Linked DNA regions of Homo sapiens: region 1 is linked to region 2. The links are contacts of gene promoters, found by promoter capture Hi-C in blood cells and fetal thymus (Javierre and others, 2016). All regions are on one chromosome and are shown on one strand. The core of a region is centred on a gene start or on the middle of the fragment in contact, and the rest is flanking DNA. Distances in the headings are between cores, read along the strand shown.

Region 1 (6,468 bases), core at 243-2,742, 240 kb after region 2:
TGTGGGTCTCAATTTCCTCATCTGCAGCATGAAACAGTGATCCTTCCTTCCAGGGCCATAACAAAGGGTCAATGAGAGGGCATCACAGTGAACTTGCTGAGCACAGGGCAGGAATAAGTCCCTGAGGCACTGACGTTTGCAGTGTCCCCGGGTGCCCAACATCCCTCCAAACACCTCGCTCCTTCCCCCCCACCTCAGGGCCTTTGTACACGCTGTTCCTCCTGCCTGCAACACTCTTCTCTGTGTCTCTCCCCTGCTGGTTGTTCTGAGCTCAGATGCTATATCCTCCAGGAAGTCTTTTCTATCCCCTAGATGAGGTCACAGCCCCACAGTCTCCCCCAAACCAGACTGAAAACTCCACGAATGCAGAACAGGGACTGTCTTGCTCACTGCTGTGTGTTCTTACTATTTATTAAATGAATAAATAAATGAGTGGATGAGTGAGACATGACAACTCTTGACCTTCAGTGACAACACAGGGCCATCGGGGTGGCAGGGCCTGCCTTGAGGGCTGTGGGCACCCATCCGAGCCCCTGATCCAGCCCACAGAGTCCAGGAAGTGTTCCCAGAGGAGGCAACAGTTCAGCCTGAATTCAGAAACTTGAAGCTGCAAGGTCACCAATACCTACTTTACAGATGGGGAAACTGAGGCCTAGGATCAGGGGCTGCCCGTGAATGTCCTGAGAAGCTGCCCTGCTTCGCTGGTCTAAGGCTCTGCCAAGTCCCCCACCCCTGAGTGGCCCATCTCATTCCCCTGGGGCTGCCCCACAGCCCACCCAGGGCCGCCACCCCCTGCCCCTGGTCATCCATCGAGCAGGTGGCAGGGCTGCTCGGGGCTGGGGCGGTCCTGGGCATGCGGTTGCACTGCTGAGTCGGGCAGCTGGCAGCAGCACAGCTACGAACCAGCTGTTTGGATGACAAACTGTGTTCAAGCTTCATTAGGGTAATCACGGGCTCCCCTCCCGGCAGCGCCGCGGAGCGCGACTGTCAACCTGAACTAATCAAACCCGGCCCCAGGACACCCGCCCGCCTGGCTGACAAGCCGCTAAGCCACGAGCCACCGGGTGCTGCACAGCTCCCGGCAGAGACCCAGTCCTGCCGCACGCCCTGGAAACAGCTGGCCTCACAGAGACCTACTGTGTGCTCCCTGAGATCTCGTGAGCCTCAGAGGCCCTATCAGGGAGGGACAATCACAACAGTCACTCCCATTTCTATAGCCCACGAGAGAAAGTGACTTACCAAAGCCACATAGCCTTGTGGGGTTAAGTCAGACAGGAACCCAGGTCCACCAGGGACCCCCATCACCAGCCCTATTCCCAGTGCCTCCCAGACCCGGGCAACCTTGCCTCTTCCTGCCCTTGAGGCCCAGCAGGCTGAGCTTGGAGCTCTGAGGCTGTGGTCAGATGTGTGGCCTCAGCAAGTCCCTTGACATGTCTAGGGCTTGAGCCCTGCACCCCAACAGCAGCCTGGGGGCTCTGATGGTGCAGGTGTGGAAAGCACTCTGCCAGGCACTGGGGGTGGTGCAGAACCTGCCTTGTAGTCTATGGTCACTACCCTGCGCAGCTGGGCTGTAAGCCAGCCCACTTGCCTTACATCCTCAGAATCTGAACTTAGCCAGGAAGGGAAGGTCTGGTTCCTTCATTTGACAACTGGGGAAAATGGGGCCAAGAGAGGGGTGTCAGAGATCACGGAATGTAGTGGAAAGAGTACAGGCTTTAGAGACAGATGGATATTCCTTCATCCACTCATCCGCTCAACAAATACTAGCAAGATGCTATCACATGTCAGGTGCTCAGGACTTGCTGAAGGAACAGATGACAGGAAGGAAGAGTGAGTGAACCAACGAAAGGCACCGGGGTCCAGCCGTGAACTCAGCAGACACCATCCCTGCCTCCTGGAGTTTTCTGTCTAGGGCGAGCAGATGCATAACAGATAACTATTACAAATGACATGGGCACTACGAACTAGCCTGATAACATGCACCAGGAAGGCCCTGCCTGGCAGAGGAGGTGATACTCCAGCTGGGCTCTGAGGGTATTAGCCAGGCAGGGAGAAGCTTGGGAGGTCGGAACAGCAAGTGCAAAGGCCCTGAGGTAGGAAGCAGCTCAGGGCTTTTGAGAACAAAAGGTCCCTCTATGTGGCTGGAGTGTAGTGACCAGTGCAGGAGCTGGAGCAGGAACAGCCAGGGGGAGGATCTCGGTCTCATTCCAAGGGTGATGGCAATGTAAGCAAGGGCAGCACTCTGGGTTCGACGGGGAGAGTGAGCGGGAGAGTTCAAATACCAGTTCAGCCAATTTCTTTCTTTCTTTCTTTTTTTGAGGCGGAGTCTCGCTCTGTTGTTGCCTAGGCTGGAGTGTAGTGGTACCATCTCGGCTCACTGCAACCTCCGCCTCCCGGGCTCAAGCAATTCTCCTGCCTCAGCCTCCCTGCTAATTTTTGCAATTTTAGTAGAGATGGGGTTTCACCATATTGGCCAGGCTGGTCTCAAACTCCTGACCTCAAGTGATCTGCCTGCCTCAGCCTCCCAAAGTGCTGGGATTACAGGCATGAGCCACCGTGCCCCGCACAGCCAATTTCTGATAAAGCAACTGCATGGGCAAACACGATGCTACAGGAAAGGGACCATGCTGTGCGGCTCTGTTTCTATAAAGTGCAGAGATGGACAAGGCCAGCCTCTACTGTCAGATGCCAGGAGTGGGGGCAGCTGCTGGCAGCAGGTGGGGGTTGACTGGGAGGAGCACGGGGGAGCCTCCAGGGGCACTGGGGATGTTCTAGGTCTGGATCTGGATGGAGGCTGCACAGCTACCTATAGCTGTACACTTAAGAAGTGTGCACTTTTCTGTATTAAGTTATACCTCCAAGAAAAAGTAAAAACAAAAGCCTGGCTGCGTCACTCTGCCTCTCTTAATCTCTGTTTTTGCATTGGCAAAATGCAATGGCAGGAGCTGCCCCACTGTGCAGAGGCTTTAGAGGACGGTGCACCCAGTCTGTGTGCAGTGGCAGGAGCTGCCTCGCTGTGCAGAGGCTTTAGGGGATGGTGCACCAGGGCTGTGTGTAGACAGTGGCAGGAGGTGCCTCACTGTGCAGAGGCTTTAGAGGATGGTGCACCAGGGCTGTGTGTAGACAGTGGCAGGAGCTGCCTCGCTGTGCAGAAGCTTTAGAGGATGGTGCACCAGGGCTGTGTGTAGACAGTGGCAGGAGCTGTCTCGCTGTGCAGAGGCTTTAGAGGACGGTGCACCAGGGCTGTGCACAAGCCTGGCTGACAGCCACTGCACCATGAACGCAAGTCACACAGAAGCAGAAAAGTATCTGGCTTCCACCACACCTTGGCCCTCTTTGAGCCTCAGTTTCGGTAAGGAACCAGTGGTCCCCACCTGCCTCAGAGGCAAAGGGGTAAAGGTGTAAAAACCCTCATATCAGGCCCCTGTGAGCCAGCTTGCCCCTCGCCACAAAGTGGAGAGCAATTCAGAGACCAGAACACACAGTATGCCTACTGCTCCACGCAGTAGGTACTAAGCCTGTAACTCACTGCCCACAGCCACACACAGAGGAAGGCGATAGAAGGCAGGCCTAGCCCAAGCTTCCAGGTGCCCAACCTGCTCACCCACTATGTGCCAGGCCTGGCCTAGGGCTTCCCTCTAGGAGGAGCACCGGCCCACCACGATGGCTCCTCCAGGTGCCACTGGGACACAGGACCATAGGCACAAGCGCAGTGGGAACCCAGGCCAACGGGTGGCCCCTGCCTGGGGCTGGAGTTTAGCAGACTCCTGTGGGAACAGGCTCACAAGGTTCCAGATGAGCCACCAGATAAAGGTGACTCAACATAATGGTACCCTTGGTGTCAGAGGGGCTGCATGGCCAGGTGCCCCTCACACCATGGGCAGCTGGAAGCAGGGAGAGGCCTGGTTCCCTGTCCAGAGCCTGAACATCTCACCCTCCTCCCTGGGACCTTGGGTGGCCTTGGGAAATCAGACTGGTGGCAACCTCACCAACAATTTGTAGGCTCAGCTGTCCTCACGGCCCTTTAATATCATTTTCTCATGAGTCTGCCAACAACCTAGGGACAGGGCCCGGGGTCAGAATCATCATTGGCTCCATTTTACAGAGGAGTACACTGAGGCTCTAGGAGGTTTGGTGTCCCAGGGGTACCCCAATGAGGAGTCAAGAAGCAGCTAGATGGCTGGATGCCCATGGTCAGCCCCTGGGCACAACTCAGTCCCCTGTGCCCTGTCCTCCCCATCACCTGGGGGCTGCTCACTCAAGCAGCCAGTTCACTCAGTCAGTCAACAAACAGCAACTGTGTGCTGCAGCCACTGTTCTAGGAGCTGGAGGCAGAGCAGGGAACAGGCTAGGCTGCAGGGAGGTGGTTCCGAGTCAACAACCGCTCCAGCCCTTACACACTCGGCACATGCCGAGAACAACAGTGTGGCAGACACACTGGCGCCTGTCATGAGCCAGGCGCTGCACTGAGACTATCACATCTAATTCTCTAAGCAGCCTCACAAGGGTGGAATAGTCATCCCCATTTTACAGATGAGGACGCTGAGGCTCAAATTCAGGGCCTTGCCTGAGTGTAGTCTCACAGCCTAGTCTAAGTGGGGAAGGATCTGGCCCCAAGCACGTGGGCTCCTCAGTCCTGTCTGTCCGTCCCATGGGACTTTTAGTCCTTTGTGTGAGTTGTCGGAAGGGAACCTTGCTCTGGACCTCAGCAATGGATGGATCTAGCAGGGCCTCAGGATGAACCAGGACCCAAGACTCCACACCCCATCCCGTGTCTCAGGCCCTGGCTGCCTACAGTATCCAGAGCTGTACACCCTCTGGGCCCGGAGCCCAGCCTGACTTTCGTTCTGCATACGCTCCTGGGACCTGGGCTCCACAGAGACATCCGAGACCATTCCTGCTCCCGGGGCCCTGCCCACATCAGCTCAGCCCCAGCAAAGATCCCAGTTTTGTGCTGGCCCCCACCAGGCAAGAGGGGTGGGGAAACAGACAAGAAAGCAAGGAGTCCCACTTGGGATGCTCTCCCCGCACACCTCCCATGGCTGGCACCTTCTCCTGCCCCTGATAAAGGCTCCCTGGCCACCCTGCCTCTATCAGCACCCCCTGCACCTCCCACTCTCTCTCTGGCACCACTCAGCTTTTCCACACAGCCCTGCCCACAGGCCGGCACCAGCCACGTTTTCACCTGTTTGCTGTCTGTCACTCCTACTCCACTGTGAGCTCCTCGAGGGTGAGAACCTGGTCTGCTTTATTCACAAATGTAGCTCTCCCCATCCCACCCCCAATCAGTACCACATCTGGTGCATAGTAGGGCTGCAATATCCTTATTAAGGGACTGCATTTGCTGAATGAATACTGACTGGCAGAGAGAATGCGAGAACACAGTGCACGCATCTGTTACCCCTGACTCTGAGCAGACAGCAGGGGGGCAGAGAGTGGGGAAGTGTCCCAGGCAGAAGGCATAGCAGGGGCAGAGACCTGAGGGCAAGAAAGAACTGGGCTCTGGGACCTCTAAGTGCAGCTTCTGAGTGCGGCAGAAGCACAGGACGTGAGACTAGGGAGCCAGTAGGGTGGCAAGGGGGTGACAGGGAGCCCTTCAGGGTGCCAGCTCTGGGGTGGGGGTGCCCCAGCACTCAGATCACGCCCCCAGCCCTGCCCAAACCAGCAACGAGCCTGGCCCCTAGCCCAACTTTACCCCCGAGGCCACCTGTGGTGGGCAACCAAATCTGGGGGCCAGCCATCACTCCTCCTCTGCCCAGACACCAGGAATACAGTCCTGGCACCCACCCACAGGTCTGGGAGCCAACCTGCCACCATGCAGGCTGCAACCTGTGACCTTGGCCCCATTAGCGTGGCCTCCTCCAGTCAAGCAAACCAGCTGGCGCCAAAAAACAGAGCAGGTTGGGTGAACTCCTCATTGCAGAGGATGGCACGGCTGCAGGCAGCAGGAGACATCACTTACACGCTCCAGCCGGGATCTGTTGGGGAGGGGTGGTGGTGGCAAGAACTGGGTGTGTCCAGGGCAGCAAACAGCTCTCACACCCAGGCTGGACTGACCTGGCATGGCTCGGGTAGCTAGGTTGGAAAACCCACCCCAGACAGCCTCTCTCTCTCCAGGCCTCAGGCTGGGCCTCGGCTCCCGCCCCCTCTCCCCTTGGATGACCTCAGCTCTGGATGCCCCCGGAGCACTCCAGCCAGAGGTTCCCTGCTCAGGCCTGCTTCAGGCATCCCTTCTCCTGCATGCATCCCAGGCATCCTATCTGGGCTCTTCCCTCCCCCACCTCCCCATGCCACGTGGACTCTCCCAGCTCCAGCCCCACTGCCATCTCCCTCCTTCACCCGTCTCTGCCTCCAAACCTGCTACTGAGACCCTCTAAAGGGTGCCCGCCACCTTTAGAATAAAATCCCAGGCATCTCCTGGCCCTACTGGCCCACATGGCACAGTCTGGCCCCTAAACCCCCTCCACA
Region 2 (6,516 bases), core at 3,315-5,814:
TTGGATAGGAAATCCTTTGGCCTTGGCGCTTCTGTTTCATGGAAGAACCGCATAACATGTGTCCGCTGCTTCCATACTTTAATTGTTTCTTCCAGTTCGATCTTTCCCTGAACAGTGAGGAGAGAGGTCATCAGTCAAAGTTGTCAAGTTGAAGGCATATGACACTGAAGGCCAGGATTCTATTCTCTGCTCAGCATGGACTTGTTGAATGACCTTGGGCAAGTAACTACTCTGTCTGGGCAAAGTTTCTATGTCTGGACAATGAGGTGGTCAGGGTAAATCATTTCTGACACTTTTCAGATTCTTTAACTCTGTGGTTAACTGGTACCAAGAGGAGAAACATACAGGTTAACAGGCTCCTATCCCATGACTACCTAACCTGACTGGCTTAACTTATGTTTCTGCTTATCATTTCTTCTGTTACTGACTGGTCTATGCTGAAGCTCCCATTGATGCTAACGTGACTGGCCAGGGGGACAGAATCAGCCCCAGGATTTGAGTCCATTTATACAGGACTCATAACCACCCTAACTGCCTCTTCCAGCTGTAAACTGGCATTCAGATGAAGTGGTAACTTCTAGGGATGAGGTTCAAGAAGAGTTCAAACTTTCCTCCCTATATCTTTTTTTATGGTTATAAAATGCAAGTCCCAGTGGATGTTCCCTTGATGAATCTTATCTATTTAACCAGATGATAACCTCCAAGTTCAAGTATTTCTCTGAAACACAGCAATAATCACTGCCGAACCAGTAGCTGCTTTCTAAACTTGGAGACAAAATGTTCATTTGGAAAGACTAAGAAGTAGTGGACAAGTTGGCTGATCTTTTAAATTGGTCAGGGAGGGTCAGTTACCTTAATGACCAGAAGATCAACCACCCTGGGGTCTGTGACATGGGCATTCTTCATAAACATTTCTCGGACTTTATCCCGTCCCATTTTCACAGTGATGTCCAGCTGGAATTGGTGCACTAGAGAGAAAAACATGACTCAGGGTAGAAATTGTATGGTTAAATAAAACCTAGAGTCAAATGATACTCATTGAACACATACAGGTCGCCCATTCATTTCTTCACCAAAAAATTAGCCTGACCCTAGGCTAGGTGCTTGAGGATGAGACATGTGATTCATGGTATTTGCTCTCAAGGAACTTATTATTTGTTTGGGGAAAAAGACCACTGAATTTGAAGAGGCAGTAAAGCATTGTTCAAGAGTTTGAACAACCTGGGTTCAAATCCCAGCTTTTGTTAGCTATATGATCCCGTGTAAGTTAACTTTCTTGTGCCTGAGTGTATTTTTTAAAAAATTATTTTATGGGCTGGGCGCGGTGGCTCACGCCTGTAATCCCAGCACTTTGGGAGGCCGAGGTGGGCGGATCATGAGGTCAGGAGATCGAGACTACCCTGGCTAACACAGTGAAACCCCGTCTCTACTAAAAATACAAAAAATTAGCCGGGTGTGGTGGTGGGTGCCTGTAATTCCAGCTACTCGGGAGGCTGAGGCAGGAGAATGGTGTGAACCCGGGAGGTGGACCTTGCAGTGAGCCGAGGTCGCACCACTGCACTCCAGCCTGGGTGACAGAGCGAGACTCCGTCTCAAAAAAAATAATAATTATTTTATTAGCTGGGCGCGGTGGCTCACGCCTGTAATCCCAGCACTTTGGGAGGCCAAGGCAGGTGGATCACCTGAGGTCAGGAGTTCAAGACCAGCCTGGCCAACATGGTGAAACCCCGTCTCCACTAAAAATACAAACATGAGCCGGGCATGGTGGTGGGTGCCTGTAATCCCAGCTACTCGGGAGACTGAGGCAGGAGAATCACTTGAACCCGGGAGGTGGAGGGTGCAGTGAGCTGAGATGGGCCACTGCATTCCAGCCTGGGTGACAGAGTGAGACTGTGTCTCAAAAAAAAAAAAAAAAAAAGGCTGGGCGCGGTGGCTCACGCCTGTAATCCCAGCACTTTGGGAGGCCGAGGCGGGTGGATCATGAGGTCAGGAGATCGAGACCATCCTGGCTAACAAGGTGAAACCCCGTCTCTACTAAAAATACAAAAAATTAGCCGGGCGCGGTGGCGGGCGCCTGTAGTCCCAGCTACTCAGGAGGCTGAGGCAGGAGAATGGCGTGAACCCGGGAAGCGGAGCTTGCAGTGAGCCGAGATTGCGCCACTGCAGTCCGCAGTCCGGCCTGGGCGACAGAGCGAGACTCCGTCTCAAAAAAAATAATTATTATTTTATTAGCTGGGCGCGGTGGCTCACGCCTGTAATCCCAGCACTTTGGGAGGCCAAGGCAGGTGGATCACCTGAGGTCAGGAGTTCAAGACAGCCTGGCCAACATGGTGAAACCCCGTTTCTACTAAAAATACAAAAGTTAGCCAGGTGTGGTGGCACGCAACTATAATCCCAGCTACTCGGGAGGCTGAGGCATGGGGAAATCACTTGAACCCGGGAGGTGGAGGTTGCAGTGAGCCAAGATCGCGCCATTGCCCTCCAGCCTGGGAGACAAGAGCGAGACTCTGTCTCAAAAAAAAAAAAAAAAAAAAAAGTGAGTTATCATTACTGTTTTTTTCATTAAATACTTAAAATTTTACTTTTGTTTTTTATTAATGCTCAGGCTGTTCTAAGTTCTCAACACTATTACTTATTCCCCTTCCTTGATTTGATTCCTCAGCTGGAGTCCTGATGATGGATACCATAAAACCCGTGTGGCACAGGTTTGAGTAACTGGCCAGCTACAGATCACTGATCTTCCCCATAGGGATGCATACTCCTTGACCCCTTCTTTTCTCTCCTCTTCCCTTGCTTTCTAGGCTCCTGTAGCCCTCTGCCTTCTTTTCCTCCTCTCAAGACCCTTCTGACTTTGGGACTTTCTTCCCAAAACAGAATTTGAGGGAAGGTCTTGGGAGGGGTCGGTTTAGAAAGAGCTGGATCCTCAGAGTCAGGATACCTGGGTTCTGTCTTCTACTTGGCCACTGATTTACCCTTCACAAGCCACCCTTTTTGAATGTGGTCCTCCTTCCCCCAGCACCTTCCTCCTGCAACCAGAGAGGGTTCTGGGTACTCCTAGAAGTATTCTGCCAGGCAAACATTATGTTTTCAAACTGCTGAATTTGAATGCACCACCCCGAAACACACACACACACACACACACACACACTGCTACAGTCACTCCCCACACACATCTTTTATCTGCCTGCCCCTGAAGGCATCTGAATTTGCAGTCCCTGAACCAGCAGATCACTCAAGTTTCTCCTTCTCTAGTATCGCGTGGGTTTAAGTTCTGGTCAGTAGCAATTTTTCCAAAAGTCAGCTTGAAGACAGGGACTCTGTGGAGCAGACACAGTTCTCATATGTCAAAGAACCGGGTTCTGCTTGGAAGCTGCTGCTAAGGAAAGCCCTATAAATAACAAAAATAACAACAAAAACAACGGCAGCAGCTAATATTTAATGAGTTAAATATGCATCAAGTCCTGTTCTAAGCACTCTAGATATTTTAACTTAATACAGTAACCTTCTGAAGAAGGAATTATTATTCCCATTTTAAAGATGAAGAAACTGAGGAATAGATGAAATAACTGGCCCAAGGTCACACAGCTAGTTGAGGGCAGCGCCTGAAGAAAAGTCCGTGCTCCTAACCACCACATTCTACCGCCTTTTCACACACACAAGCAGGGACTCGACAGCCCTGAGGAGTGGCACCGTGCTCCAGCTCACTCAAAAACACCTCTTTCTCGCACTTTGGGAGGCCGAGACGGGCGGATCACGAGGTCAGGAGATCGAGACCATTCTGGCTAACACGGTGAAATCCCGTCTCTACTAAAAATACAAAAAAAAATGGCCGGCGTGGTGGCGGGCGCCTGTAATCCCAGCTATTCGGGAGGCTGAGGCTGAGGCAGGAGAATGACGTGAATCCGGGAGGCGGAGCTTGCAGTGAGCCGAGATCGCACCACTGCACTCCAGCCTGAGCGACACAGCGAGACTCTGTCACAAACAAAAAAATCCAACGGGCATCTATAATTACACTCTGCAACTCTAGACTTTGGGTTCTGGGTACAACAGTGGCTCGGCCTGGGCCCTGGGCACATCACTTCACCTCTCGGTGCCTCCGCTGCCTCACCCACAAAGTGAGTGTGTCACTGACAGTCATCGTCCTCCCGCCAATTGCGAAGGACAAAAGAGACCAAAGCTCCGATAGCACGTACGAATGCTAGGCACGGCCGGTCTGACCACCGCGCCGCCGCCAGGTCCGGCCCATGGTAGGCTCGGGTGACCCTCTTCCCCTGAAGCACCCGCAGTCGCCTCTGCCCAAGTTGGTGACCTCAGCTGGGCCCATGAGAAACCCCGGCCGGGCCGGCTACGACCTTGAGCGGCGGCCTCCGGGTCCCCACGTAAGCCGCTACCTCTCACCAGTGTTCGGCACCTCCCGATACCAGGCGCGGTAGAGCTCGCGCACCCTCCGCTTGGCCTCGTTCATGTCCCGACTGAAAATGGGCTTCACGAAGGTGCTGGCGGTAGAAGTAGCTTGGCGGACGCCGCTCCCCGCCATCTTGCCAAAGCATCCACTCCACAACCCCACCCCTTTGCAAGCAGCGCGTGCGGACCGCGGGCGAATGTCTTTTCCCATTGGCTAAGGAGGAACGCCCCGCCTGTATGCTGGGTGGGCGGGAGGATGACTCTGAGGCTCTCGGATTGGCTGGGAAGCCTCTCTCTGGCTGAGCGAACGGTGGGTGCTGCGCATGCTCATCTACAGAAACGCCGCTTGGCCTTTGGACTACACCATCTGTCGCTCGCTCTAACGAGCCGGCGTTGCCGCCAGGGGACGCTCGGGCCGCAGGAGGTCGCTGGGTCGTGAGCTGGCGCCGGGGACGCCGAGCGACTGCGGGGTTTCCCTCAGCGTCCTGCTATCCGGCTGCCCGCCGCGCTCCTTGGTAGTGTCCGTGGGCGCGCAGGCCTTGAAGAACCTCCTCGTGGCGGGACCCCGAGGTAACTGCTGAGGCAGATAATGGCGCCTGGGCTGCGGTGGGGCTTGTCCTGCCGCCTGGCGGCTTTCTGCAGGGCCAGGATATACTTACTTTTCTGTAAACCAACTCTTCCTTAGCGCAGGAGAGGTGTCAAAGAGCTGGCGCGTCTCCAGAGCCCCGGGAGGAAGGCTGTAACGGCAGCCCCATCGTAGACAGGGACATTCGCATCCCGAGCCCTGGATCTCTGAAAACCAGCCCAGAATTTGGAAGCTGGAAGGAACTTTAGATCGTCCATTCTGAGTGTCTCTCTTCGCTGGCGTTTTCCCACTGAGGTTATGTAAACATGAAGAGGAGCCTACAAGTGTCAAGGAAAAAACGACAGCTAACCACAGGGCAGGCCATGGGCAAGATATCTCAGTGTTCTCCGCTCTCATAGGTCAGGTAGGTACCTCAGCATCCCCATTTTACAGGTGAGGAAACTGAGATGGCCCAGAGTCTAGGTCACCTGACAGATCGCCCCCACCTGCCTGACTGCTGCCTAAGAGGCTCCGTCTTTTTCTGAAGGTGTAGTTGACAGGAGCCTGTGAGTATTGGGGAAGGGCCAGGGGCCGGGGCTGAGCATCTACTCCAAACTTTCCCATTTCGAAGGGTTAAAAAACCAGATATACTTTTTTTCTTCCTTATTATCTTCTAAAATGTATATATATATTCAAGTGAGCTATACAAAAGAAAGCACGTAACATATATAAATTATAAAGCATAATAATAAAATGGAAGCTTTTGAACCTCAGTACTGACTTAAGAAGTTGTAACACAGTTAAGGTTTGTATAAAGTGTCCTTAGATGTCCTTAGTAGCCACTGTTCTCTAGTTCTCTAGGTACATTAACTTGGCTAGGCTTCACAACACACCAGTGAGATTGTGTTGATATACCCTTTTTTTTTTTTTTTTTTGAGACAGAGTGAGACTCACCTAGGCTGGACTGCAATGGTGCAATCTCGGCTCACTGCAACCTCCGCCTCTCATGTTCAAGCCATTCTCCTGCCTCAGCTTTCCGAATCGCTGGGATTACAGGTGCGCACCACCATGCATGGCTAATGCTTGTATTTTAGTAGAGACGGGGTTTTGCTATGTTGGCCAGGCTGGTCTCAAACTCCTGACTTCAGGTGATCCACCCACCTCAGCCTCCCAAAGTGCTGGGATTACAGGTGTGAGCCACTGCCCCCGGCTGATATACTCATTTTATAGATGAGAAAACTGAGGCACAAAGAGACTAAGTTACTTTACAGCATTGGGGTTGAAGCCCAGGCAGCTGGTGCCAGAGTCAGTTTTCTGACTCTCGCAGCACCTATACCATGATATCTACCTGTATGATTCTAACCTTGTGTATACCCCTGCCTCCTTCAGAAGTACCCACTATCATGATAAATTCATTGTGTTCAACATTCAAAAAAAAAATGGGGCGCAGTGGCTCACTCCTGTAATCCCAACACTTTGGGAGGCCAAGGCAGGTGTATCACCTGATGTCAGGAGTTCGAGACCAGCCTGGCCAACATGGTGAAACC

The links. The method cuts DNA at HindIII sites, captures the fragments that hold promoters and counts their contacts. A CHiCAGO score of 5 or more calls a contact.
Region 1: a fragment that was not itself captured here is called in contact with the fragment with the promoter of NDUFA6 in region 2 in 2 of 17 cell types (naive CD4 T cells and activated CD4 T cells); the score reaches 6.1 in naive CD4 T cells.

What each region holds. Positions count from the first base shown.
Region 1 is chr22:42,330,202-42,336,669 of GRCh38, forward strand. It overlaps a transcript of TCF20 not described here. Among named protein-coding and RNA genes, the nearest start is that of LINC01315, 36 kb to the right of the region's middle. The HindIII fragment of the contact is 1,123 bases long and covers 932-2,054 here.
Region 2 is chr22:42,086,208-42,092,723 of GRCh38, forward strand. It overlaps NDUFA6 (NADH:ubiquinone oxidoreductase subunit A6), which reads right to left and starts at 4,565. Exons shown (of 3, transcript NM_002490.6): 1 at 4,399-4,565; 2 at 853-968; 3 at 1-107. The coding sequence starts at 4,537. NDUFA6-DT (NDUFA6 divergent transcript) reads left to right here and starts at 4,726. Exons shown (of 5, transcript NR_034118.2): 1 at 4,726-4,974; 2 at 5,090-5,393; 3 at 5,912-6,025. The HindIII fragment of the contact is 8,372 bases long and covers 1-5,727 here.